Linked DNA regions of Homo sapiens: all the other regions are linked to region 1. Evidence: promoter capture Hi-C in human tissues and cell types (Jung and others, 2019). All regions are on one chromosome and are shown on one strand. The core of a region is centred on a gene start or on the middle of the fragment in contact, and the rest is flanking DNA. Distances in the headings are between cores, read along the strand shown. Region 1 holds the start of FAM221B (family with sequence similarity 221 member B). Region 2 overlaps SPAAR (small regulatory polypeptide of amino acid response). Region 3 has its middle 23 kb from the start of OR2S2.

What was found. Contacts are between HindIII fragments. The study calls those that stand out against the background at their distance.
Region 2: a contact is called between a fragment that was not itself captured here and the fragment with the promoter of FAM221B in region 1, in 6 of the 25 tissues and cell types used here (H1 embryonic stem cells, aorta, bladder and 3 more).
Region 3: a contact is called between a fragment that was not itself captured here and the fragment with the promoter of FAM221B in region 1, in 6 of the 25 tissues and cell types used here (H1 embryonic stem cells, IMR-90 fibroblasts, aorta and 3 more).

Annotation. Positions count from the first base shown.
Region 1 is chr9:35,827,464-35,831,271 of GRCh38, reverse strand. It overlaps FAM221B (family with sequence similarity 221 member B), which reads left to right and starts at 2,540. Exons shown (of 7, transcript NM_001012446.4): 1 at 2,540-2,809. It overlaps TMEM8B (transmembrane protein 8B), which reads right to left and starts at 2,044. Exons shown (of 13, transcript NM_001042590.4): 1 at 1,317-2,044. The coding sequence starts at 1,824. RefSeq lists an enhancer at 952-1,452 and a silencer at 1,738-2,187. The HindIII fragment of the contact is 23,285 bases long and covers 1-3,808 here.
Region 2 is chr9:35,910,130-35,914,001 of GRCh38, reverse strand. SPAAR (small regulatory polypeptide of amino acid response) reads right to left here. Exons shown (of 2, transcript NM_001348107.3): 2 at 2,316-3,845. The coding sequence starts at 3,538. The coding sequence ends at 3,311. Among named protein-coding and RNA genes, the nearest start is that of SPAAR, 2.6 kb to the right of the region's middle. RefSeq lists a silencer at 2,877-2,956 and an enhancer at 2,960-3,840. The HindIII fragment of the contact is 7,213 bases long and covers 1-3,872 here.
Region 3 is chr9:35,932,919-35,936,758 of GRCh38, reverse strand. No RefSeq gene overlaps it. Among named protein-coding and RNA genes, the nearest start is that of OR2S2, 23 kb to the left of the region's middle. The HindIII fragment of the contact is 7,970 bases long and covers 1-3,840 here.

The DNA of each region.
Region 1 (3,808 bases), core at 1,291-3,790:
GATACACTGGCTCACATGCACCCCACACACATGCACGTGTCTACACTTAACAACACACAAGCATGTACACATGCTGCCAGCCTCCCCACAATCCCTCAGTTACACACATACACATAAGTGACCAGACATCTCTGCAGGGGTTGTGACCTTTCACGTGCATTCGTCTCCTTAAGTTTGTACACTGAACCAGGCCCCCAGAGCTCACTGATACCCATTCTCCACCCCCCAGCTGTTCTGTTGGCTGTTATTTCCAAAGACTCCATCAGGCACATCTCCATCCTATCTAGAGTGACACCCACCAGAGGTGGCTACAGACTTGGGCCATGAAGACTACAGTCACTCCATGATGGAGCCATCTTCATGGCACATCCCCTAGACCAGGACACCCCCTCCTCCTCCCACATTCCAACCATTAAAAAATTGGACCTCTCTCTCTTCTGTCCAAGTCACTTCCCCACCGGAGGGTGGCCCTTGGCTGACGCCTGGCAAATAAGGAACAGTTTGTGGATAAAGCACCCTTGTGGGCAGACCGGGGAGAAGGGAGGTTATGCTTTGAGCCTTTCCCCACTTGGGTCTATTTTTCTATTAAGTATACATTGCAGTGGATAAAAAAAAACACACTAGTATGAAATAGGAATTAGGAAACCTTTTTTCTAGCCCCAGCACACTGCCATTCACAAGCTCTCTGACTTTGGACAAATTGCTCCCTCCCTGAGCCTCAGTTTCCCCATCTGTAAAATAGCCTCCGAGTTTCAGCCCTGCTCTAAAAGTATCAGGAATTATTCCTAGGCAAATCAATCTTCTTTGGAACAAGAATCATTACAAGAAGAAAACTCATTATAATGGCAACTAATCCATATTCATCTATTTGCTACATATTATCTTTAAAACTCTTCTTCATGCCGTTTGAATGCATGCCCAATATCTCAAAGGTTTGGGCTATATATTCCCACACTACACTAGGGGCTTCTGGTGTGGGACTGTCTCTCCCCCATCAAACTTTGTGAGCAGGAGCAAAGCCCACAACATTTCCCTGGAAAAGCAAGAGTCAAAGTGGGGTCAGGACAGACACCAGAAAAAATCTTGGAGTCTCTGTGCTAGAAACTGTAAGCCACCTGCTGAGCCTCAAACCCAATTAATTACCACTCTTTTGACCCTGCCAATCCCTGTTGTGTAAGACCTCTCTACTCTCTATTTCTCCCACTTGCTCCCCAATGATCTAGTTCCCCAGGTCCCACCTCTCCTGAATCTCTCCAGCCCACCCCTCCCTGCCGGAACCCCATTCCTGCCTCAATCTTCCCTGCTTCTGCACTCACCAGCCCCTGGGCCAAGGACAGAGAACAGCAACAGCAGCAATAGGGCTGGCGGCAGCTGAAACCCAGACTTGAGTCTAGGCTGGGAGAGGGGCAGAGTATGAGAGATAGGGGGGACTAGAGGGAGAGACTTGGGTAAACACAGAGATGAGGGCAAAGGCTGAGATAATGGGTTGGGCTGGGCTGGACACTGGGGCTTGAACAAGGGCAGGGAGTGGGATGGAAGGAAGGGCTGTGATGGGGACTGCAGCAAGGGACGGGGTTGAGCCAGGGCCTTAAGCAAACACTGGGAATGGGGCTGGGACAGGGCCTGGGCTGGGATTTGTGACAGGGGGTGGAACGAGGGCCGAGGCCGGGATGGGGGCCAGGCCAGGGGCAGAGACTGGAAGGGGGTCCTGGATGGGGACCCAGGCAGGGGCTGGGGCCGATGTGGGAAGCGGGGCGAGGGCGGGGCTGGGGGCCAAGGCGGGGATTGGGATAGGACGAGGGGCCGGGACAAGGGCTGGGCCATGGCCCGGGGCGGGGGCGGGGCCGGACAGGCCAGCGCGGGGCGCTCGCAGAGCTGGCCCGCGGCTCCGCTCCCCACCCCCGGGGGGTGGCCTCCGGTGTCCTCGCGGGCCCGGGGCGGGGGCCGGGGACCTGGGTAGGAGTTCAGGCCTGGGCGACTCCGGGCTGCGCTGAACCGGCGATAACCAGGCCCCGCGGCGGCGGCCTCGACTTGACGTCGGCGTGACGCCCCGCCCCCCGGCCGGCTCGATTGGTCCCTGTCAGTAAAGCCCGCCCCCGCCCTACTCTATTGGTCCCCAACTTAGTCCTGCTGGGCTTCGAGGACACACAGACTCCGCCCCCGCCTCAGCTACCCGAGACCCTGCCTTTCTCACCCCAAGCACAGAGCCCGAGGTCCCCTCAGATCCTCACAGCCCCCAACGACCGCCCCACAGATGTCTCAAAGGAACCCTATCCTCACAATCCCAGACTCCCCCGGACGTACGCACAGATCTCCGCAGATCCTACCCAAACACTCGCTCACAGAGATCCCGCAACACACACCCCACTTTTCAGAAGTAAACCCTCTGGGCTCGCCCCCTCGAGGCCCAATGCAAGCCCCTCAGGAGACCTTACCCACCGGGGAGGTGACCAGACCGCCGTTGCCACGGAGACTACTAGGCGTTCCGGTTGCCCTGGTGACCGGCGCCTACTCTCCTGGCCCGGGTTCCGGAGGCTTCAGTCAAGACCCTCCCTCATTGGCCCTAGACCCCTTGTCCCTACCCACTTCCCCAGGTCATGCCAGAGCTCCTTTGCGAAGTTCTGCAGATATCCAAGTCCCCTTCCCAGATAGCAGACTTTCAGGCAAGGCATTTCAACACTCAGCACCTGCAGCTGAGGCACATCCACAACCAAGAGCCTTTCCTCCCTGAGGATCAACACCTCCCCCTGCCATCCTAAGTCAAGGTCTTGACCTAAGGACTTGTAACAACCAAGCCAAAGCCCAGAGGGTAGGTGGTTTCTCCAACGGCCCTTGCCCTCTTCCCTCAAAGACATCTGTCTTTCTCCCACCCCTCAGTCCCTTCACATTGTTGTAGTAGTAGTAGTAGTAGTAGTAGTAGTAGTAGTAGTAGTAGTAGTTGTTGTTGTTGTTGTTGTTGTTGTTGTTGTTGTTGTTGTTTGAGACAGAGTCTCGCTCTGTCCCCCAGGCTGGAGTGCAGTGGTGCGATCTGGGCTCACTGCAACCTCCGCCTCCCAGGTTCAAGTGATTTGCTTGCTTCAGCCTCCCCAGTAGCTGGGACTACAGGCGCCTGCCACCATGCCCAGCTAATTTTTGTATTTTTAGTAGAGACTGGGTTTCACCATGTTGGCCAGGCTGGTCTCGAACTCCTGACCTCAAGTGATCCACCCGCCTTGGCCTCCCAAATTCTGGGATTACTGGCATGAGCCACCATGCCTGGCCCACATTCTGTACTTTTCATCCTTACTCTCCTCCTCCACCCAATTTCCTCCTCCCCTTCTCTTTCCCCTTCCTCACCTCCCATCTTCTGGTTCTCCACTCTTAGGCCCCTTTTCTCTCTAGCTGACTCTGGTCATCTTCCTCCCTGTAATCCTACCTCTGCCCCTAATTCCCTTCCCAAACATCCCCTTCAAAAAGGCTCTGATGCATTTAAGGAGTGATATATCTAGCGTCTCTGGAACATGGGGGTAAAGTAGGGAGCACGGAAAGTTAAGGCAGGAATCCTCAGGCTGTGTTGAAAATGATGACAGGCCTTGAATGCCAGGGCCAAGAAATTTGGACTTAATCCTTTAGACTGAGTCATGGAATGTTTTTAAGCCACAAAGTGCCAGTTGTTGGGCTTGCACTTTAGAAAGATCCTGATTGGGTCAGGAAGGAGGACTACATCCTTGCAGGATAAATTAGGTATATCCCCCTCCCCACCGTATCCTAGACTCACCCCAGAACAACATCAATTTATTTGTATTGCCATTGTTGGTTAATCGGTCTC
Region 2 (3,872 bases), core at 1,337-3,836, 83 kb before region 1:
TTACACACACACTACAGCATACAAAAACACACACACTACACACATACAGCTTACACACACACCACAGCATACAAAAACACACACACTACACACATACAGCTTACACACACACCACAGCATACAAAAACACACACACTACACACATACAACTTACACACACACTACAGCATACAAAAACACACACACTACACACATACAGCTTACACACACACCACAGCATACAAAAACACACACACTACACACATACAGCTTACACACACACCACAGCAAACAAAAACACACACACTCACTACACACATACAACTTACACACACACTACAGCATACAAAAACACACACACTACACACATACAGCTTACACACACACCACAGCATAAAAAAATACACACTACACACATACAGCTTACACACACACCACAGCAAACAAAAACACACACACTCACTACACACATACAGCTTACACACACACCACAGCAAACAAAAACACACACACTCACTACACACATACAGCTTACACACACATCACAGCAAACAAAAACACACACACTCACTACACACATACAGCTTACACACACACCACAGCAAACAAAAACACACACACTCACTACACACATACAGCTTACACACACATCACAGAATACAAAAACACACACCACACACACTCACTACACATATACAGCTTACACACACACCACATACTCATCATACCCACATAAAACACACCACACACATACAGCCTTATCTAGGAGTCCACGGGATCCAAATGTCCAGTTGACCCCCACGTTCCCTTGGCCGGGCTGGGTACACAGTCAGTGCCCAGTCAGTGTTTACTGAACGGAGGAGTGAATGAATAAGTGAATGAATGCATGGGTAAGTGAGGCGGCATCTACTCCAGGAGTAGATGGATGGGTGGGTGGATGGATGGGCAGATGGGCAGGTGAACAAATGAAGAGCGTGCCGGGCTTGGCAGACAGCCTGTCTCCTGCAGAGGGAGGCCAGGCTCCCTCCCCATGCCCGCTTCACCAGCACTTTGTTTTCACGGCCCTGTGATTCCAGCCTGCAGACCCTCCCGGACTGACCTAGTGAGTGCTGTGACCACACAGTACAAGAGCAGAGCCCTGGGCCTGGCTCCTGGTGAAGGGTGCCTGAGCTGGAGCAGAGCTGACTCTGGCTGAGGAGAGAGGGAGACTGAGGCCCACTCTTCTCCCTTCCAGATCCTGCACGGCCGTCTCTCCTCTCATAGATCTCCTGTGCCCAGGTTTTTCTTTGTGTCTGGACATATTCACCCACCTCTGACCAGTCTAGGCTCTTCCAAGAACAGGACCCTACAGAGTTTCTGTGGAGATGTGCTGCCCAGGTCCCCTTCAAAGGAAGGACTTCAGCCAAATGCAATGGCTCACACCTGTAATCCCAACATTTTGGGAGGCCAAGGTGGGAGGATCACTTGAGGCCAGGAGAGTTCAAGACCAGGTTTGGAAACATAGTGAAATCCCATCTCTACAAGAAAAGGATTTTTTAATTAGCTAGGCACGGTGGCATGCACCTATAGTCCCAGCCACTCAGGAGGCGGAGGTGGGAGGATTGACTGAGCCCTGGAATTTGAGGCTGCAGTGACCTATGATCACACGACTGCACTCTGGCCCAGGTGGCAGAGTGAGATCCCATCTCCTAAAATAAAATAAAATAAAATAAAATAAAATAAAAATAATAAAATAGGAAGGGCTTCAAGACCTGCCTCAGCTGCAGAGAGCTGCCCTGGCTGAGGTCAGACCCTGGGAGAGGGGAGAGGGACTCAGAGACGGAGCAAAGGTGGGGATATGAAGGACCTGCATCACGGTTTGACTTCTTCCTCTGCCCAATCCTGCTTCTTCCTTCTCCCCTTTGTAGGTGTTGATCCCTGACAAATATCTTGCACCCGAACTTTGTCTCACTGTTCGCTTTTAGAGAACACAGCCCTCAAAAGTTCTCTTCCCTCCGTCTCCAGGGCCTCCCCACATGTGCCGTTCCCTTCTCTGTGCATCTCTGAAGGCCCTGCGTCGAGGGCTGGTGTCAGGAGTGTCCAGGACATGGTCCCAGGAGCTCCTGGACCTGGGCTGAGCCTCGCCCACCATGCTCCTCCCCATCCCTCTCCGTCAGCCTCACTCTCCCCACCACTTCCCCCTCCCCGCGTGCACCTCTCCAGCTCCAAGCCACTCTGAAAGCCCTTCCCATGGCAGCCACATGGCAAGGGCAGCCTGTCTGGACACCCTTAGAGGCCAGAGCCCCCCTAAAGCTCAGTCCTGCCCCCCTCAACAAACAGGTCCTGGGAGAGCCATCTATTCAGGGCTGGATACAGACATAAGAGCCAGGAGGCTCACAATTTTGCACCCTTCAAACCAAACTCCTTAAATATAGCATGGCATTTATTCCATGGCCATGGGAGAATGGGTTTTCTGTTAATAAAAACTGAATATCCCCTTATTTGTGATGAAAACAAGAGCTTTGAATGTAACATAACATTTTAACTTGTCTGGAATTATCTTTCAGTTCCTGATTTTTCTGTCACTCCGAAGTGACACAAGTCATTCACATTCTCTAAGAATAGGAGTGACCTGTTGGAATATAGCAATAAAGTCTCATTAAAAATATGTTTAAAATATCTTATTTCTGGCTTTCCTGTTAATAAAACATATTGTACTTTCTGTGGCTCTTATTTTCTCTTCTGTTTCCTTTTGTGGTTTTTCTAATCAGATTTGGAAAGGCCCATAAAAGGATATACATTTTCAATTCTAAGGTAAATAACTTGTTCTCAGGAAGCAGCTCTTTGGTTTCAGAATTTCAGGGCTGATTTCAGGCAACTGGCAGGGAGCAGGCCTCGAGGTTGGGTTCTGTGCAATGTGCAAAAGTAATCAATTAGGAGCAAGTAAGAAGCGGTTTCTAGAAATGTCCACTTGAGGGTGCTGCGTGCCCAGGTGGCAACAGAACCAGCATCATAGGCACACCGTTTACAATAAATTCCAGTGATATTTCAGTTCCTGGTGTAGATCAGCAGAGCCGGCCCACCGTGCACTCCGGCGCTGTCTGTTCACTCACTCCTCAGAGCTCTCCTAAGCCCCATCCTGTGGGTCAACCCCAGCTGGGCTGTCCCAATAACAAGGATCCCTGAGGCTGGAGGGCACAGAAGGCTGGAATGGGAGGAGACGGGAAGTTCACAGGTTACTGGAGGGGAAGGACAGGGAGAAGGCCCTGGGAGGAGGGGAAGGCCAGGGAAGGCTTGCTGAGGAGCGGGTGAGTCTGACCCATCAGCACAGCAAATCCTGGGGACTCGGGCGTCACATGAAGGTCCAGAAGTCCTGGGCACTTGGCACTGGCTGGGCATGGCGAACAGGCCCCGTGAAGAGAGAAGCTTCCTGGCGAAACGTGGCCACCGTGAAGCTGCGGCCAGGACCCCCCTGAGGATCCTGGGCCCTTGAGTCACAGCTGAAGCAGCAGAGGACGCAGGTGATGGCCACAGTCACCACGAACAGCACCACCACCACCCCAATCACTGCCGTTTCCATGGCCCACTGAGCAACCTTAGGTCCTCTCGGAGCCTTCGCTCCCATCCAGAACAGGAGGCTCTTCGCGATCGCAGGTGCCCCGTGCTCCTCCGGCGGCTCTCCTTCCGTCTCCTAAGAAGATGCTGCTCTGAGTCCCTGGGTCGCTCCTGCTCCAGGCCTTCGGGCGCTGCCACGTGGCCCCACTGCTGAAATCTCAGATGATCTCTGTCTATTTTCTAAGCCTCAGGCCATGCCTCCAAGAGCTGTGGTCAGCTCCATGTCAGCTTCTAGAAGAAGCACTGTCCTGGAAGACGTGAGCACAGATTCCCTGGACACAGAGAAGGTGGAGAGGAGG
Region 3 (3,840 bases), core at 645-3,144, 110 kb before region 1:
CTGTTGAGTCTGGATTGAAAGTCATTGTATTAATAGGTAGTGAGGCTGATTACATGATTATATGAGGATTTTAATAATATATATAACTCCTGGATTAATACCAAAATACAACAGAAAGGGTTCAGATATAGTAAGTTTGGTGATTCTGAGATATGACTTTTTGCTTTGCCAAATACTAAAACTTCTATGTAGAAATTAGTTAAGTATAACCAATGAGTTTTGTTTTTTTTTTAATAAAAGTGTCCAATTCTCCTCCTTCTCCTTGTGCACTGTACTGCAGGGCCAATATTCATTCCATTTAAGGCCCATTTGGTCTCCTGGAAAGCTGGCCACAAATAGCTTTCAATAACACCTCTGGGCATACACCAAAGAAGTAAATCTGACTCTAAGTAAAATCTTGTAGCTTGCCAATATTTTCACCAGTTAGGAATTATAGGAATTCAGCCATAGAATTTGAACATAAATTGAAGTCTCCTTTTAGCCATTTTTTGTTTTTAGTAGAGACCAAGATCCCATTCATTGCCAAACGTTTTCATAGGCATGAATGCTTGTGTTTGATCCAGGAATAATAAATGATTGACTGTTACCCAGCAGCAGGGTGGGGTGGGATTCCTGGCACTTTTTTTTTTTTTAAGCAAAGGAAAAACAACTGAGCAGACATTTGCTCTTTCAACAGCGTTTTGTGAAAATGTAAATTAAAGAGACTAGTCTTTTTAAAATTATTTCCATAATCACAAATACGACTGTGGAAAGTCAAGACAATGCTGTTTTAAGTCAATATAAGTTATCTGACCTAGACGTCGCCATTAGGACTGTCAACTAACAAGGCATCTGTAGTTTGCTAACTTTTTTATCTTAATGAATTCTGAATTCAAATGTTTTCTTTTTAAATATAAATATTTGCTTTCGCTAAAGGTAAGTTGAAATTCTTGAGTGTTGACTTGAGTACGTACAGAAAAGATCAGTTTCACTGCCAGTAGCTGGGAAATCCATGGTTGGAATTCAAAAACAGCCAATGTATTATACATCATTACATTTCATTGTACACATTCCTATAATATAGAATAAAATTTAAAATTATTTTTGAATAAAACCTTGATTATAGGAATCACAAGAGAAAAGTTTGCCTCATTTAAGAAGTGCTCTAAACTAATAGCTCTCAAACATTTTGCCCTGCAGGTTAGCAAAAATGAAAAGACTAATCAGACCTAATATTGCTAAGTGTAGAAGAAAATAAGTAGAGTCATGCGTTGTTTAGACTGAGATGCATTCTGAGAAATGCGTCATTAGACGATTTCATCATTGTGGGAACATCACAGACTGGACTTGCACGAACCTAGCCTAATATATACCTAAGCTATATGGCATGGCCTATGGCTGCTAAGCTAGAAACCTGTCCAGTGTGTTACTGTACTGGACACTGTAGGCAATTGTAACACAATGGTAAGTATTTGTGTATCTAAACATAGAAAAGGTACAGTAAAAATATGGAATCATAAACTATGGACCATTGTCATATATGCAGACCACACATCATTGACCAAAACATACATACTGACCAAAATATCATTGTGCAGTGCATGACTATACACTTATACTTGGTGCTAATGTAAACTGGGCCAATTTTTAAAATATAATGCTATAATGTTAGATAGATATATAAGAAAAGTAGACTGAATAAGGAAAACTCAATCATATCCCAAGAAAGAAAACTAAGAGCCTAAAGGCCAAATAGTCCTCGGTTTTACAAGTTGAATCACCATGCATTTAATATTTTTTTAAATTTTTTATTATTTATTTATGTATTTATTTGTTTGTTTGTTTGTTTGTTTTCAGATAGAGTCTCACTCTGTCTCTCAAGCTGGAGTGCAATGGCGCGATCTCAGCTCACTGCAACCTCTGCCACGCAGGTTCAAGTGATTCTCCTGCCTCAGCCTCCCAGGTGGCTGGGATTACAGGCACTCGCCATCACGCCTGGCTAATTTTTTGTATTTTTGTAGAGATGAGGTTTCACCATGTTGGTCAGGCTGGTCTTGAACTCCTGACTTCAGGTGATCTGCCTGCCTCGGCCTCCCAAAGTGCTGGGATTACAGGCATAAGTCACCGTGCCTGGCTACCATGCATTTAATATGAACTTGCCAGATTCAGCAAATAAGAATACAGGTTGCTCAAATTTAATTTCAATTTCAGATAAACAATACTTTTTTTTTTGAGGCGGAATCTCGCTCTGTCACCCAGGCTGGAGTGCGGTGGCACGATCTTGGCTCACTGCAACCTCTGCTTCCCAGGTTCAAGTGATTCTCCTGCCTCAGCCTCCCGAGTACCTGGGACTACAGGCGCCCACCACCATGCCCAGCTAATTTTTGTAATTTTAGTAGAGACGGGGTTTCACCATATTGGCCAGGCTGATCTCAAATTCCTGACCTTGTAATCCACCCACCTCGGCCTCCCAAAGTGCTAGGATTACAAGAGTGAGCCACCGCTCCCGGCCAAACAATACTTTTTTTAGTATAAGCATGTCTATATACTTTGTGTCATAGCTATAGTTTAAAAAGTATTCATTGTTTATCTGAAATTCAGATTTTACTAAGCATCCTGTGTTTTATCTGGCAACTCTAATTTAACATAAAACAATAATGATTACAAGATAGGAAAGTTTTATCTTAGATTGTTGGTAAAATTCCTGCCCCAAATCTCTTCTTTCACATCCTTTACCCAGGGTATGATTTTCCAACTGTTGTCCTAGAAATTCCCTGGCTAATCTTGTTATTTTATCCTTATCCTTAGATCCATCTTACAATGTCCTCCAGTATCTCTTACTCATTTTTTTTCTTTCTTTTTCAGTCATAATTCTTTTCATTTTCAAGTTGCTGTTAATAGTTCCACGTACATTCAAGAGACAATCCTCTTACCCATCTCAAAACTAGGCATTACTCAATTTTCCTGGAGGAGGGTAAGAAGAAGCCAAATCCAGAACAGAGAGTACAAATAATTAACAGGCTTAATCTTTGGAGTGTCTCAACTGCAAAGGAGTAATTGTTTTCCTACCTACTCTTGTTGCTTTTACAGGTGAGCAGACAGGCTGGAACAGACAGGCAAGGAAAAGACTGTTGAAAAGATTGTTCCAAGAACATGAAATTTAACTGCAGTCCGATTTGTACAAATTCCATTTATCTTGGTTTCGAACTACCCCTCTCTACCACTCGGATCTTTGGAAGCTTAAATGGCTAGTTACAATTAAAAAAAAAATACAATCAAATGAAAAAACTCTACAGGAATTTAGACACTGACTTGAGAGTTAATTACACTACAGACTTATTGTGAAATGTTTGGGGGCCTAAGAATGGTATTGTGGTTATGTTTTTAATAAGAGCCTTTATCTTTTAGATACATCCTGAAATATTTGCAAATTAAACAATACTCCTGGAATTAGCTTGATAAGGTAGGGGATGAGTGGATGGAAGTACAGATAAAGCGAGTTTGTTGAAGCTGGAGAACAGGTACCCGGGAGCCCATTATACTATTCTCTGTGTTTTTATGTGTCTTTGAGATTTTAAGAATTTTACTTTAAGAATAATAAGAATTCTTAAAGTAAAAATTATTATATGCATACGATGCAATGTTATTCAGCCTTGAAAGGTAGAAAATTCTGACACATGCTACAACATGGACGAACCTTGAGGACTTTATGCTAAGCGAAATAAGCCAGTCACAAAACAGCAAATACTGTATGATTCCACTTATATGAGGTACCTAGAGTTTTCAAACTCATAGAAACAGAAAGTAGAATGGTGGTTACCAGGGGCTAGGGGGAGGGGGAAGTGGGGAAGTATTACAGTA